Linked DNA regions of Homo sapiens: all the other regions are linked to region 1. Evidence: promoter capture Hi-C in human tissues and cell types (Jung and others, 2019). All regions are on one chromosome and are shown on one strand. Each heading gives the region's core, a stretch centred on a gene start or on the middle of the fragment in contact. The rest is flanking DNA. Distances are from core to core; before and after follow the strand shown. Region 1 holds the start of RNF112 (ring finger protein 112). Region 2 overlaps EPN2 (epsin 2). Region 3 overlaps ALDH3A2 (aldehyde dehydrogenase 3 family member A2).

Evidence for each region. Contacts are between HindIII fragments. The study calls those that stand out against the background at their distance.
Region 2: a fragment that was not itself captured here is called in contact with the fragment with the promoter of RNF112 in region 1 in 3 of the 25 tissues and cell types used here (dorsolateral prefrontal cortex, mesenchymal stem cells and spleen).
Region 3: a contact is called between a fragment that was not itself captured here and the fragment with the promoter of RNF112 in region 1, in 3 of the 25 tissues and cell types used here (dorsolateral prefrontal cortex, mesenchymal stem cells and mesendoderm cells).

Annotation. Positions count from the first base shown.
Region 1 is chr17:19,409,981-19,413,137 of GRCh38, reverse strand. It overlaps RNF112 (ring finger protein 112), which reads right to left and starts at 1,906. Exons shown (of 14, transcript NM_007148.5): 1 at 1,676-1,906; 2 at 1,468-1,508; 3 at 355-640; 4 at 1-200. The coding sequence starts at 1,729. The HindIII fragment of the contact is 25,812 bases long and covers 1-3,157 here.
Region 2 is chr17:19,246,667-19,249,708 of GRCh38, reverse strand. The region is part of intron 1 of EPN2 (epsin 2); the gene reads right to left. Among named protein-coding and RNA genes, the nearest start is that of EPN2, 11 kb to the right of the region's middle. The HindIII fragment of the contact is 3,795 bases long and covers 1-3,042 here.
Region 3 is chr17:19,655,096-19,657,887 of GRCh38, reverse strand. ALDH3A2 (aldehyde dehydrogenase 3 family member A2) reads right to left here. Exons shown (of 10, transcript NM_000382.3): 4 at 1,314-1,522; 5 at 26-143. Among named protein-coding and RNA genes, the nearest start is that of ALDH3A2, 7.7 kb to the right of the region's middle. The HindIII fragment of the contact is 6,920 bases long and covers 1-2,792 here.

The DNA of each region.
Region 1 (3,157 bases), core at 657-3,156:
GGCAAGCCCTGAAGCAAATGGTTGAGGAGGAAGGACTTCCCTGAGTGCTGCTCCCCCAGGACAGCGAGGAGGCAGACTGGGGTGTCCCTGGCCAGAGGGTGCTTCAGGCAGCGGTTGATGGCCCCCATCCTAAGGATGAGGCCCCCAGAGGCATTGATGCGAACCAGCAGCAGCGGCTCCGCCCTCACAGGACACGTCTCCTGGGCCAGGAGAAGAGAGGGGCCCCTGAGCATCCAGGACCAGCTCCTGACCCTGGAATGTGTTCAGCCTGGAGCTCTGTGTCCTGATGTTCTAGAATAGGGCCAAAGCCACCCCCTCCTCTTGGGTCTGACTGATTAGGCCCAGTCCCCAGACCTGCAGTGCAGGGGGCAGCGGCCGCTGCGGCAGGAGCTTCATCTTCTCGCCCAGGCTCCGGAGGCCCCTCTTCTGCTTGCATATCTTCCGGCACTCAGGACAGCAGGGCGGCTCACAGCCCGGGAGACGGTGTGTGCTGAAGCACCGTATGCAGAAGTCGTGGCCACAGTCCAGCGAGATGGGGTCGCGCAACCTCTCCAGGCAGATGGAGCAGGTAGGGAGCTCCCGGGGCGCCATGGGCTGGGGCCCCAGGCCTAGCTCCAACTTGGGGAAAGGTGTATGGGACCTGTGGGGCAAAACAGGCCATTGAAAAGCAGGATGTCTATTGGGGGCAGGGGGTACCGGCCAGGGTTGTGGTGGAAGACTGATGGCTTGGGAGTGGAGGTCCCTTTGTGCCAACCCAATTTCCATCAGTGCCTCCATGGACAGGCGGAGCTGCTCCCAGAGAGGCCAAGCTCTGCCCGTTCCTCACTGACATGTGTCCTAGGACCTGGGGGCCTCAGAGTGGGGGCAGCAGAGCAATGGTGAGAGAGTCTGAGAGGGAGAAAATCTGAGTGGAATGGACTCCACCACATCCCAGCCATGCAAATGCAAGCAAGTTCCTTCCCCTCTCTGGGCCTCAATTTCCTAACTGTCCCAATGGAGAGGATAGCAATACCCCTCATGGGGCCGTTGGGGTGGCCATCCGAGAGGAGGCGTGTGCAGCTGTCTGCACAGTGCCTGGTGCAAATGCTTGGGAAGAGCCTCTCCCGGCGTTCTACAGCGGGGCTCCCTCCATGAGGTGCTGACTTCAGCCAGGCCCCCAGGGATGATACCCTCCACAACCCCATGCTACAGGGACAGTGAGGAGAAGCCATCAGCCTGTGCTGCAGTTGGGCAGATGGCTCTGGATCTTAGAAGATTCCTTCCGCTCTCTGCTCTGAGCTGGCATCTGCCTCCCTGCAGCACCCACCTGCTTCTTCCTGTCCCTCCCTCCACAGCCTGGCGGATCCAGCCTCAGGCGGACAGCCCTCCCGGCTGGGCTGCCGGGCTCTGTGTTCCAGGACCGGCCATTTCAACTGACCTGCCTGGCCTCACTGCACCCATCCCAGCCTGGAAGGCCCTGCTACTTACCAACTGTTGCCGCTGTTTCCCATGAAGCTCTGTTTTCTCTCCTTGGAGAAAAAAAAAAAAAAAAAAGATTTAGAACATAATCCAGACTTCTATCTTCACCCTGGATTTCCAGGGACCCCTCATCCTCCCCACCCCCGGCCCATCCCCCAGCCCAAGGAGGGCCCTTCCCACCCCACTCTCCTTCCCGATCTTAGGACTGAAGACTTGCCCGTTTGCCAAGCCGATGACAAAAGGAAGTGACTGACAAGGCGGGCCTTGGCATGGGAGGCTGGGATGGGGAGAGGGTCCGGATGCAGAGGGGGAGGCCCCGAGACCTTCAACCAGAGGTAAGGATGCCTTTTCTCCCGGAAAGGCTAGCAGGCTGCGGTAGGTAGAAGGTGAGGTCGGGGGATGGTATCCCCGAGGAGCTGACTCCCGGTCAGAGCTGGAAAAGAAATGTGACAGTCAGGAAAGAGGAGGCTGCTGCTGGACTCACCCCAGGGGGAGGAGACACGGCTGCGGGTAGCAGGGCTCCGAGGAGGGAGGGATGGAGCCCGGCTCAGAATCCCTGGCAGAGGCTGGGATGCAGGCAAGCCGAGGTGGTGAGTCGCCATGGAGACAGAAGGGAAAGATAAGGACAGGGAGGGGGAGGGGGACAGAGAGGGAGAAGGCGTGCGGTGCACCCGCAAACATGGAGGCGCCTCCGGCAGAACCATGGGCCAGCACTGCCTCTACTGGGCCAGCTGAGGTCTCCCCAGGGCCACAGGACAGGGTGGGCAAAGAGAAGAGGTGTGAGAAACAGGAGAGGGTAAGACCAGAGCTGACCCAGAGACAAGGAGTTATTCATCCATTCATCCAATGAACAGTTACTGAGTACCTACTATGTACAGAGCCCCCAAATGCAGACCCTACTTCACATGGCCCTGCACATCCTCCTGCTCTCTCTCAGGTTTATGTCATCGACGCCCAACCCAGCTGCAGCCTTCTTCAGCACTCATGGGCCCTCCGTGTCCTCTGGTGTATTTCCCTCCCAATAGCTTTCACTCTGCCTCAAACTTGAGCAGGATGAAATCTATCAAAACTATGAGCCACCTCTGGACCTTCTAATGGCCTCTTGACTGGGCTCCTTGCCTCCCTTCCACTCCCCAGTGCACAGCCAGCATAGGCTCCCCAAGCACAGATGACCTCACACTGCGCAAACACCTTTTGTGTCTCCCTACTACCATCAGATCAAAATCCAAACTCTCCGGCCTGCGGACTGGGCTGAACCTTCCTTCCACCCTTCTCTCGCCCCACTCTTCCCTGCCTCTGCACCCTGGCTTGGCTGCTCTGCTCCTTCTCATCCCTCCTGGGACACCCTCTTAGGCCCAGTGCAGGTGCTGTGGCCTCCCTAGAGCCTCCTTTCCTCACCCCTCCCAACTGGGTGCGGTCTTGTTCTTGGACAGTTGAGGGCTGGGATATGTGATAGGCTTGGCGCAGCCCAGGCTTCAGAGCCAGGCAGATCTGGGCTTGATTCTCGGCTCAGGGGCTCTGGGACTCCACTGCACCTCTCTGTGCTCTGAGGAGCCACCATTACCTATGTAAAGCCACTAGTCCAGGCACGGGAGTCATTCGTACATCCTATGAGCTAGGATGCAGAAGGGTTGGGGTGAGGTGGGATTCAGAACCTAGAAAAGTTCAGCAGAGACCACCTTCAGCAGGTGGAGACACC
Region 2 (3,042 bases), core at 270-2,769, 160 kb after region 1:
TTTCAATGTTTAGAAAGAGGCACAAACAAAACACATCTGTGAGCTCAATCCACCTAAGGACCACTTTTCTAGTCCAGACTGGGCAGAGTCAAGGGCAAGGACTATTTCCTGGGTGCCCAGCACGGAGCCTAGCACACAGCAGCTCTCTGACATTCACCCCAAGTTAACGCAAGGTCCCTTACCTTTACCACATGGTCATAAAATTATCCAGGGATTTCTGGAAAATAGAGCTGCTTAACTGAAAGGAGTTCTATTCCCAAGAGACTGTTTAATCACATAGACATTACCCAGAGGCCTTGGGAAACTGGCCTGGAGTAGAGGAGGGAACATCCATCTCACTGCAAACAGAAAAAAGTGAGGGCTCTTCAGGTCCTCTGGAAGAAACCTCCAACCTCTCCCTCCCAGCCACCCTCAGGGTGCCAGCTTGCTCACTGCAGCTCCAGATAACTTCGGTTGTTCTTCAACAGCAGAGGAACACTTCTCAAGTGGGCTCTTTTTAGCTCCCCACTTTCACCAGCACAGAGATGCTCTGATTAGAGGTGGGGTGGAAGGCCCACAGTCCTGCCCACTCACCGCCAAAAGGCTACGTGAAAACCACAGCCCATGAGTCAAACCTCACCAAGCTCGCCTGTCCTGCCTGGAGAGTCTGGTCAGCAGGCAGCTGGGCCTCTGCCACATGTCCAGCTCTTCCTCCTCTGCGCCCTCCTTGCTCAGCTCAGGCCTCTGCATAATGCAGCTCCCTCGGCCAGGGATCCTCTCATCTCTGTCCCTGAGAACTCCCACTTTTCCTTCAAGACTCGACTCACATACTATTTCCTCGAAGCCTTCTCTGGTTCCCAGGTTCCATTCTAGTGTCTGACACCACTTTCTAAACTTCCCTCCCCCAGCTATCTCCCAAAGCTAATATTACTTGTTACTGAGGCAAGAGCCACCATCTGCAGACCAAAAACTATTTTGAAATGTAAGAGGAACTTAAATTTTATTCACTCAGGCGTTCCCAGCCAACAGCACATAATACATATGTGCTCAATAAGCATTAAGTAAAGAATAAATGAAGTGGACTATAAACTCATTTTTTGACTGAAATACCATATATTACAATGACACTGTGACATGCATTAACTGTACCATGTAAAATCCCACTTCTAGACTTTGACTAATAAACTGAATCTATCTAAATTAGTAACTCCACATTACAACTATCTTTAATAAAATTAAAGAAATGTAATTTAAAATTTTACATGTACCATCTGCTGCAGTCATTACAATTTAGGGTGTGGGGAGGAACTTGGCTAGCAAGCTTGAGAGAACAGATAAGAACCTGCTGTGCCTGCTCTGTGGCTAAAATGCAGGTTGAAAGGAGGCTTGCCAAATAGGTGGATCACAGTCTCTTCTGCCCATCCCTTGTTTAAACTTTCTACTAAGCTGTCCTTCTTTATTTACCAAGGTAGCTTAGAGGCGTATTTCAGCCAGGGTGATCATTTCTGCCAGTTCCTCTCCAGCCCTGATTCCACCAGCCAATCCACAGTCATTCTACAATAGCTCAGGAACCCAGTCCCCGCACCACATTACTTCAAAGGCTTCTTCTGGCTTCAATTTTCCCCTTCCAATCCCTGACACTCCCAGAGGCTCCTCCAAGCACACAGCTCAGCTTCTCAACCCACACAGACTATGAGAATTAACTGGGGGCACTTCTAAAAATTACTGGCTCCCCCTTGATTGGTCTGGGGTAGGGCCCCATCATGGGCATTTTTCTAGCTTTCCAGGCCACATGATTTGCAGGCTCCCAGGGAGTCAAATCCAAACTTCCCAGCCAGCACTGAGGCCCCCTTTACTCCCTAAACACAACTCAACTCTGGCTTCTCTTCATTCTCCATCTCTAGAACTGCTATCTAGCCAGTCTCAGGAAGCCAGTCTGGGCCAGGCCCCCACCCACAGAGATTACTCCGCAGGGCCCCCTTCTCAAACACTTGAGGTGGCACCCACTCAAGACCTACCCTGCTCCCTACTACCCAGAAAACCAAACCCCAAGGCTGCTGTCTCATCAGAGCCAGTGGCCATCTGGCCACCTGGGAGCTCACTGCTCCCAGCAGGCATCCACCCGTCACCAGCTGCAGGAGCCAGCACACACTCAAGCACCTACCCCATCCCATCTCAAGCTTTAACTCCTGCTGTTCCTGAGATCCGAAATACCTTCCCATCTGCCTTCCACTTAGGGATACTGTTTCTTGTTCTTCAAGGTCCAGCTCAAATCCTACCTTCTCCTGATAGCTTCCCTGACTTCTAAATTTTTTCTCCATTCTTGACCCCCTGACAAAGAATCAAAATCATGGCTCAACAAACTGCTAGCTTCTGTCTCACAAATAGTAACTTTGTCTTCTCAATTAGATTAAGTTCTTGGTGGCATTTCATTTATAACCATTATTTGCCTCTAGATCACGTGTTCCATATTTTTCAGGTTGACACTGGCCTCAGTCATGAAACTGTCCTTGAAATGCCCATACTTCTACATCTCCCAGCTGCTTCTCATAAAGTGACATACAAATTCTTTCTCCAATCAGATGTTTCCCAAATTTTGTCATCCATAGTATAGTCATTATATCCCAGGACAGCTCTGAGTATCAAAAAGGCACACAGGGGGCTGGGCGCAGTGGCTCACGCCTGTAATCCCAGTACTTTGGGAAGCTGAGGTGGGCAGATCACGAGGTCAGGAGATCAAGACCATCCTGGCTAACACGGTGAAACCCCCTCTCTACCATAAATACAAAAAGAAATCAGCCAGGCGTGGTGGCGGGCGCCTGTAGTCCCAGCTACTTGGGAGGCTGAGACAGGAGAATGGCGTGAACCCGGGGGCGGAGCCTGCAGTGAGCTGAGATCGCGCCACTGCACTCCAGCCTGGGTGACAGAGCGAGACTCCGCTTCAAAAAAAAAAAAAAAAAAAGGCACACAGGGAGGACTTGCTTTCAGGGGGGAAAAAAAAAACAAAACAAAACAACTGCGTCCCTTTATTGCTAGGATATTTTTTTGGGGGGGGCGGAAGGG
Region 3 (2,792 bases), core at 1-2,500, 250 kb before region 1:
GGAATCAGATGTTTTTAATACAAACCTTCACTGTTTCCTTAATCTTCCATACAATTTGATTTTGGAGGGATGCTTCACAGAGAATATAGTCGGGTGCAATGCAGGTTTGGCCACAATTCATGTATTTTCCCCAGGTTATGCGTCTGAGGGGAAAACATCCAGAACAGCTATATAATTCAGTAATTCAGTCAAATATTCATTTGTTACATTGTGTTGTTTGAATGTCTTGCAACTAAAATAGATTCATATATTTATCTGGCAATTTTTATAAAAAAGTTAAAAACTCATTTCTAAATCAGTTGTTTGGAACTTAGAAAGTATTTTCCAAATGAGGTGGAATATTTTACATAGCAGGGAAGTTCTCAGGCCAGCTCACGGCAAACAGTACTTGGTAAACAGTGAAGCCATTGCCTGCTGCAGGAAAAGAGGAGAAACAGCCTCCCAATGTCCTTTCCCCTCTTCCAGTCCAGCCAAAGGAAAGTCCTGGATGACCAGAGTTCGGTACAGACTCTCCTGGTTGTGGCTTTTGGCTCTGCCTGCAAGATGTTCAGGTATAAAGCAGGATGTCAGCCAGCCTCCAAGGCCATCCTCCTCTTTGTGGAGCCCTGCCCCACTTGGGAAGACCTTTCCTATGCATGGGCAGAAACCCATGCCCTAAACATTCACTAACTGAGGGTGTCTGGTTTTGACAAATGGATTTCTACTTAGGAAGCCAACCTGGAACCCTGACCTGGAATCTCTGAAGGGCAGAGAAAGCCACACCACCCAGAGCACAGAGTCAGTTCTATGATTTGGCACTTCTTAGTAGCTAAACCGGATTTAGCAGAGAGAACCTGAAACCTCTTATTTTCTAATTTTCAGATGCAAGATGTTATTCACAGTTAAAAAATGAGGAACACTTGTTTTGCCCACAAAGGATCTCAGTTAAGATATCAGCATAATACCCTCTCAAATGGGCATTTAAAGATTTTATTAGGCACACACAATACTTTGGATTATGTACTTCACAGATCACTGGCCAGAAGAACGTTAAAATTTCTTGCTAGATCTAGCTGTAATCTTGAGAACAGATATAACTTTTTTAAAATTCCTAAGGACAACCACATGATGTCAGGACTTACAGCTCACCATTTTTGACAGTGGCGCCAAGAGACAGTGAAAGACTCCTGTTACTCTTGAGGACATCAACCACCAAAGCTTAATAATGTATCTTGGAGCCATAAGGTATGGGGTTCAAGTACAAAGAGTAACATTGTCAGGAAAAGTCTCCATTGTGCTGGGAAAACCTCAGAAAATCAGAGAGCCAGACTCACCTGCAAACAATGTCCAGGTCACAATCTTTATCAATATAACATGGACTTTTCCCTCCCAGTTCAAGAGTCACAGGGGTCAGATGCTTGGCAGCAGCTTCCATGACAATTTTGCCAACCGCAGTGTTTCCCGTATAGAAAATGTGGTCAAATCGCTGCTTCAGGAGCTCCGTGGTTTCCTCAACACCACCATTAATAACAATATAGAGATCCTCAAAGAAAGAGAAACACAAACTCTTGCACTGCCAAATAAATCCTAACGTCTAACATCAGCAATCTCTTCAACATAAACATGTAACATTCAGTAAAACCCAGAGAGTGTCAAGACCAGTCCCTGTGAGGGATGGGAGAGGGAACTGACCAAGGACAAGAGGAGAACACACAGTCCGATGGCATCTGGGAAGCATGAACCCACATAGAACTAATCTGGAGACTCCAGTGTTTTTTTACATGAGCTCAGCAACAAAGACACTAAGGAGAACAAATGGTTGAATTTGACCAGGGAAAATGCATGAGACGCGGGTGTGTGCAGAAGTGCCTCTGGTGAAGAGTGGCTCCCACAGGACAGGTCATGCATGTCTTAGTCTGAATGTTCTCTGTCTCACAACACAGAGTGGGCTTAGCCCACGCTATTCTGAATGAATGGTATATCCGGCACAGTAGCTGAGAGCGCTTGCTTTTGAAGTGTATCTGGTTTGAATCTGGGCTCTGCCACTCACTAGCTTATGCAACCTTAGGCAAGCTACTGAACATCTCTGAGCCTCAATTTCCTCATCTGTTACTGGGAGAATTCACGTAGCTTCTGTGGACTGAGCCCATCTATGCATTGTGCTATCATTACCAGCTATTCTAAGAGAGAACATCTTGGACAATAACAGCATCAAAAGTAAGAGAACAGATGGCAAGCAAGGAAGACAGAGAGGTATTCAAGACTCCAAGGTGGAAGTGTGAAGTAAAAGCTGGCTTGTGGATCTCATGTTTCCACTTGAAGGCGAATTAATTTCATTCACTTCATGGTTCAGCTGCCCAACAAATGTTTCAAGCTTTAACTTTTCTATGGCTTAATCTACATAGCATATATTATTGATCCCCTAACACGGTAACTGAAGCTGGTAGAGCATTATTATCCTCCTTATCCGGACAGAGTCAGTTATTGAAGAATTTACCCCTGGTCAGGGGCAAAGCGGTACCTTCAACCTCTATCTTCTGGTTCTACGTCCTATTCAATCCTTGACATCTCACTGTCTTCCATTTCATCTTTCTTGATTGGATCATCACAGCTATTAGAACAAAATGGCTCTAACAAAGAGAAAAATATCATTCCAAGAACCAGAACTGGCCTCAATCCATCACAAGTTGATGTACAGAATACAGGTAAGATATTTTTAAGCTGTATTTCGCTTAAAGCTAAATGAAGACTCCTCCCTGTAGCAACTGCATGTAGAACTCAGCAGTGCCAATTTCTTCGCGGCATCATAACTT